Linked DNA regions of Homo sapiens: region 2 is linked to region 1. The links are contacts of gene promoters, found by promoter capture Hi-C in human tissues and cell types (Jung and others, 2019). All regions are on one chromosome and are shown on one strand. The core of a region is centred on a gene start or on the middle of the fragment in contact, and the rest is flanking DNA. Distances in the headings are between cores, read along the strand shown.

Region 1 (3,242 bases), core at 412-2,911:
TGAGACTCTGTCTCAAAAAAAAAAAAAAAAAAGACAATATGACACCATAAAAATCAAATATAAGAATAACTTAAAGTGCCTGTCTTTCATAAGACATAATCACACAAGTTTCAGGTACCTTTAAGAAACAATATTAATTCTTTTTAAAAAGGCAAGGCAAGCGCATATATTCTTTGTGGAAACAAACACCTCACTCGTAAAACTGAAATCTGATGCATGATTTTCCTCTGGAGTTAATTTTTTCCTGATTTCTCAGTAGACACGAGCTTTAACCCCATTATTAAAAAAGACATCCCACTTATGGCCAACTCAATTTGAATTTCCAGTATTAACAAAGTTTATATCGTCTTTTCCCTGAAGTTCCATTAGTTTTGAAGCTCTGTGATTCACATGCTTGGGGGAAGGACTGGAGCCAACTTGAAAAGATCTGAATAACAGTCTTAGGTTTTCTTGATAATAATATTTGTGAAATAACTGAGAAACGGCTTTTCTTAACCTAACAGTGAGAAACTTGATGCCCACAGCAGAAGTAAAAGTCGTCTCAAACATAGAAAATAAAGAAAAACAAAAACAAAAAAAATTAAGAACTCCTCCTTTTGTTGTTGTTTTTGTTTTTGAGATGGAGTCTTGCTCTGTCACCCAGGCTGGAGTGCAGTGGCACAATCTCAGCTCACTGCAACCTCCGCCTCTGGGGTTCAAGCGATTCTCCTGCCTCAGCCTCCCGAGTAGTTGGGATTACAGGCGCCCACCACTACGCTCGGCTAATTTGTGTATTTTTAGTAAAGACAGGGTTTCACCATGTTGGCCAGGCTGGTCTCAAACTCCTGACCTCAGGTGATCCACCCGCCTCGGCCTCCCAAAGTGCTGGGATTATAGGAGTGAGCCACCAAGCCTGGCCAAAAGCTTTCTTATGAGAAAGAAAAAAAAGAAGAAAGAAAAAGTTATGGAAAAGGAAGAGATGCAAAGCCAAGCTAACAGATATTAAGCTAAAAGACTTCAAATTGTCAGTCTCCAAAAGAAATCTCTCGTCATCTAATTCATTCCTTAATGGAGGATGCATTCAATTTTTTAAGTAAATTTGGCCAATCAATTAAACCAGTTTGCACATGTGGACCCAGACCTCACTTTCCAGTTGCAAAGCTAGATAATATTAAGTATCATATCAAATAAAACGTGAATTACTAATTCGCAGTTATCTTGCATACTGTAGGCAAGGTAGGGCCGTCTTTATGCACTTTCCCTAAAAATTGGGAAGGACAGGTGAGAGCTGGGGCCGGTGTCACCACATTTCTGAGCTGTGGGACCTGGACTGTTTGGGATTTCCCTTTTGACAGGATGACAGCCCTGTCTGCCCGGACGGGGGGTACCTGAGAGCGAGAGACCGGGCGGCGGGCGCCCAGATGCGAGGCCCTGACTGTGTGGGCCTCACGCCGGCCACCGGCTGATCGCAGGGAGGAAACCCCTCACACAGGCGGAGCTGTTCTAGGCCCTCCAGTCCCTCCCCGCGCCAGCCGAGCCCTCCCCGCCCTCCCCGCCCTCCCGAGGGGCCGGGCCACACCTGCAAGCCAGCCGGAGACACTCCCACCGTGCCGTGCCGCACCGCGCCGCGCCGCGCAGCACAGCTCAGCCGCCGTCGGCCGCCGCCGCGCGCACTTCCGCTTCCGGTCTCGGGGCCGCCGGGAACGGAAGTGGCTGTGGCTCAGGCTGTTGTGGCCAGGGTAGCCTTAGGCGGCGGCAGAGAAACTAACGTCTTCTTTAGCCTCCAAGGAGAAATTCTAGTATTCTTACCCGGGGGATGAGGTTAGGCTCTGGAGTGGGGTCCCACAGAGCATGGAGGGTGGTGCTGGGGGCGGAGCCTATGTCCGAGAGACAGGGATAGGGGTGGGGCTTAGGTCCCGGGGCAAAAGTGGGGCGGGGCCTGTGCGCGGGGGCGGGGTGGAGTGTGGCTTGCCCTCCGATGGCTGATGGGCGGGGCTTGCACCCCAATGGCGGAGTGGGCGGGGCCTTGGTTTGCAGGGTGGTAGTAGGGGCGGGTCGTGCGCCTCAGGGGCAAAAATGGGGCGGGGCTTGTGCTTGGGGTGGGAATGGGAGCTGAACTTGCATTCGGAAGGCGGGATGAGGGGACCTGGGCTTCAAGGGTTGAGAGGGGCACACCCGACCCCTCCCCGGGTCTCTTTAGGGATGCTCAATATTTAACTTACCCTTTTCTCCTTCCTTTTCCCCAACCCCTTCCACCTTTATCCATGGGCTTAATCCAATCCCCTACAAAAATATACCCATACTTAAGATTGTTTTTGTATATTTTTATACGGCTGACCCTTAGGCAACGGGAGTTGGGGCGCCACCCTGTGCAGTGGAAAATTCACTTCTTTTGACTCCCCCAAAACCTACCTACTAATAGACTACTGTTAACCAGAAGCTTTACCAATAACATAAAGTTAGTTAACACATATTTTGTATATTATATGCCATATTCTTAAAATAAACTAAGCTCAGAGAAAAGAAAGTGTTATTAAGAAAATCATGAAGAAGAGAAAATATATTTACTCTTCGTTACGTGGAAGTGATCGTAAAGATCATAAATAAACGTCTTCATCGTCAGCTTCACCCTGAGTAGGCTGAGGAAAGGGAGGGGTTTGTCTTGCTGTCCCAAGGAGGACAAAGGTAGAAAAAAATCTACCTATAAGGGGATAGCCACAGTTCAAACCCTTGGTGTTCACGGGTCAACTAACTGTCTTTATTCTAAAAATAGGACGATGTATTTTTGTTTCTTCTACAGCTTGCCCTTCTCACTAAAAATAAGATGTGTGAATCTAAGACATAGATCTGACTTTTTAAAAACTATTTATTATGTAGTATACATAGTACATACCTATGGGAAAAGTTCAAACGGGAGGCTCACTCTATTCCTAAATTTTCCTCCCCTGAAACAACCACTGTCACTAGTTCCCTGGTATTCTTTATATATCAAGCACATGTGCAGTCATGCACCACATAACAAGGTTTTGGTCAACCACGAAACACATACACAGTTGTGATCCCATAAGGTTATAATGGAGCTGAAAATTTCTTATCACCTAGTGATGTTGTAACTGTCACAATGTTGCAGTGCAACACATTACTCACATTTAAAAAGGTTTTAAAAATATGAAAAGACCGGGCGCGGTGGCTTACGCCTGCAATCCCAAGACTTTGGAGGCCGACGCTGGTGGATCACTTGAGGTCAGGAGTTCGAGACCAGC
Region 2 (3,242 bases), core at 360-2,859, 1.1 Mb before region 1:
GCCCAGGAGTTCCAAGAGCAGCCTGAGAAACAAAGTGAAATCCTACTCTCTACAGAAAAATTAAAAAATACCGTTTGGCTACTGTGAACAGTGCTGCTATGCACATTTGATGTCCAAGGATTTGTTTGAATCCTTTTCCATTCTTTTGGGTGTATACCTAGGAGTGAAATTGCTGAGTCCTTTGATAATTTCTATGTTAACTTTTTGATAAACTGTCAAACCATTTTGTGTGTTTTTAAAATGCAGATCTGATTCTCCCGTAGATATCTTTCCGTAACTTGGTTTTTCACTCAGCGTCTTAGAGTGAACTCTGTGTGAGTTTATGCAGACCAAAGTTTCTCAGTCTTGGCAATGTCGACATTTTTGTGTTGACAAAATGGCTGGAGTGCCGTGGCTACTCACAGGGGCAATCATAATGCATCGTTATATATAGTAGTATATAGTCCCATTTATATGAAATGTCTAGAATAGGTAAGTCCATAGAGCCAGAGCCAGAAAACAAATTGGTGGTTTTGAAGGACTGGGTGGGGTAGGGGAGTGGCTGCTAATGGGTATTAGGTGATGAAAACATTTTGGAACTAGACAGAGGCGGCGGCCACACAACATTGTGAATGCATTCAATCCCAGGGAATTGTATACTTTAAAGTGGTTGATTATTTTATGTGAATTTCACCTCAAAAGCAGAACGAAGCGAAAGCAACAATAATGCACAACAGAACTCTGATTTTATGGGTTTGCATTGTTTTCACATCCTACATGCTCATGAAGATCTGAAGGGATACCCATTAAATTCACCGTCACGATTGCCTGGCTGGCCATTGCATGGTTTGCTGCTTTGTATGTAGCATTTCAATTACATAATAAGAAGAAACAGGCCAGGCATGGTGGCTCACAGCTGTAATCCCAGCACTTTGAGAGGTCAAGGTGGGAGGATCCCTTGAGCCAAGGAGCTCAAGACCAGCCTGGGCAACAAAGCGAGACCCCATCTCTACAGAAAAATTAAAACTTAGCCCAGGTGTGGTGGCAAGCACCTTTACTCCCAGCTGCTCAGGAGGCTGAGGCAGGAGAATCATTTGAGCCTGGGAGGTTGAGGCTGCAGTGAGCCATAATCACACCACTGCACTCCAGCCTGGGCAACAGAGCTAGACCCTGTCTCAAAAAATAAAAATAAAAACAAATACGTGTGTGTGTGTTGGTTTTAAAAAATTATTTTAAAGGACATTTAGTTGGGCAAATGACCCAGTTGGAGAAGAATGAAGGTGACGGGGCATATCAAGGCAGCCTCTGCAGTCCCTGGGGGCAATGGCAGGGCTGCCCTCCTGTCAATTTCAACAGTCATGGGCCCAAACCCCAAATCTGTAGAGCACTAGACTCTGCTCAAGCTCTTGACAAGCTCAGGGAATTGACTCACCCCTGGCAGGCGGGGGGAATGGGAAAGTGAGGATACAGATTCCCTGAGGTTGCCTCCTCTCTGGCAGGGTCCCTGGGGTCCCAGCATCCCTGTAGCGGAGACAGAGACAGTAGGACCACAGCGAGGGAAGCCGGTGGGCAGGGAGTCAGGGAGGGATAAATAATCGCATTTGGGCTCAGTCAAGCCCCCGGCTCAGCTGGTGTGGCTGCTTGGTGCAGCCCACACCTGGTCAGCTCCCACCTGTGGAGAAACTCCAAACTAGAGCCTCCTACTGGGATGAAGCAGAAGCAGATGCCTGGAGTCCCAGGTGAGTCACCTCCCCTCTCAGCCACCTGACCAGGAGAGACCTGGGGAACCAGCACCTGCCAGGGACTCCAAGAAACCACCTGTTTATATTACTCCTTTAGCAATGTGAGTCTACAGGGCAGTGGGTGACAGGCAGAGGCCACTCACCACGTCTTAGTCAGTGTGCTGTTTGCTTAGCAGGACTTACCTTCTTCTATTTTTTTTTTTTTTTTTTTGAGACGGAATCTCGCTCTGTAGCCCAGGCTGGAGTGCAGTGGCGCAATCTCGGCTCACTGCAACCTCCGCCTGCCAGGTTCAAGCGATTCTTCTCCCTCAGCCTCCTGAGTAGCTGGGACTACAGGTGCGTGCCACCATGCCTGGCTAATTTTTTGTATTTTTAGTAGAGACAGGGGTTTCACCATGCTGGACAGGCTGGTCTTGAACTCCTGATCTCGTGATCCACCCGCCTCGGCTTCCCAAAGTACTGGGATTACAGGCATGAGCCATCGTGCCCAGCCAGGACTTGCCTTCTTTAGAGCTCCTGCTGCCTCATGAGGTAGGTCCCTTGGATGGGGGAGGTAACAGGTGCAGAGAGAAGACAGCCAATGCTCAATGTGACCCAAGGTGATGGTTTGATTTTAACCTCTCTTCTCGGTCTGTCCAGGCAAGAAGTCTACGGAAAAAGGATTGGGAAGAGGCGGAGAAAAGAGAGAAAGAGGATTCAGGGTTCAGAAGCTCCAGCCACCACCCCAGGGTGTAAAGAATCAGGGTGGGCCGGGTGCAGTGGCTCATGCCTGCAATCCCAGCACTTTGGGAGGCCAAGGTGGGAGGATCACTTGAGTCCAAGAGTTTGAGGCCAGCCTGGGCAGCATAGTGAGACCCTGTCTGTACAAAAAAATACAAAAATTGGCCAGGAATGGCAGGCACCTGTAGCTACTCCAGAGATTGAGGTGGGAGGATTGCTTGAGCCCAGGAAGTTAAGGCTGCAGTGAGCTGTGATTGTGCCTCTGCACTCCAGCCTGGGTGACAGAGGGATACCCTGTCTCTCTCTCTCTCTCTCTCTCTCTCTCTCTCTCTCTCTCTCTCTCTCTCTCTCACACACACACACACACACACACACACACACACACAAGGGAGGCGTCAATGGGAGCAGGTGGTGAGGGAATGGTTAGGAGCTGGGGATGAGAAGATGGAGAGAAAAGAGAGGGAAGTGGTGGCTTAAGTGGAAGAGAGGGGAGGCCAGACAGCTTCACTAAGAAGAGAGAGCCAGGATGGGTGAGAGTTAAGGCCAGATGGGGTCTCAGAGACAAGACAGGCCTGGCCCATGGAGTGATGCTGTCACCCAGGAGACACGTGACAACGTATAAGGACATTTCTGATTGTCGTGACTGGGGAGTGCTGCTGGTATCTATCTGGTGGGTGGAGACCAAGAATGCTGCTCAGTCTCCTGCAGTGCACAGGACACCCCTCTGAGAGAGAATGATTCGCCCCTAGCGTCCCTAATGCTGAAGGCAGGAAACCCTGCTCTAGGGATGTCTGTGGCAGG

The links. Contacts are between HindIII fragments. The study calls those that stand out against the background at their distance.
Region 2: the fragment with the promoter of OR10H1 here is called in contact with the fragment with the promoter of ZNF333 in region 1 in 1 of the 25 tissues and cell types used here (adrenal gland).

What each region holds. Positions count from the first base shown.
Region 1 is chr19:14,688,467-14,691,708 of GRCh38, reverse strand. ZNF333 (zinc finger protein 333) reads right to left here and starts at 1,661. Exons shown (of 12, transcript NM_032433.4): 1 at 1,559-1,661. RefSeq lists silencers at 1,318-1,687, 2,018-2,067. The HindIII fragment of the contact is 4,983 bases long and covers 1-3,242 here.
Region 2 is chr19:15,814,031-15,817,272 of GRCh38, reverse strand. It overlaps OR10H1 (olfactory receptor family 10 subfamily H member 1), which reads left to right and starts at 1,609. Exons shown (of 4, transcript NM_013940.4): 1 at 1,609-1,718. The HindIII fragment of the contact is 22,557 bases long and covers 1-3,242 here.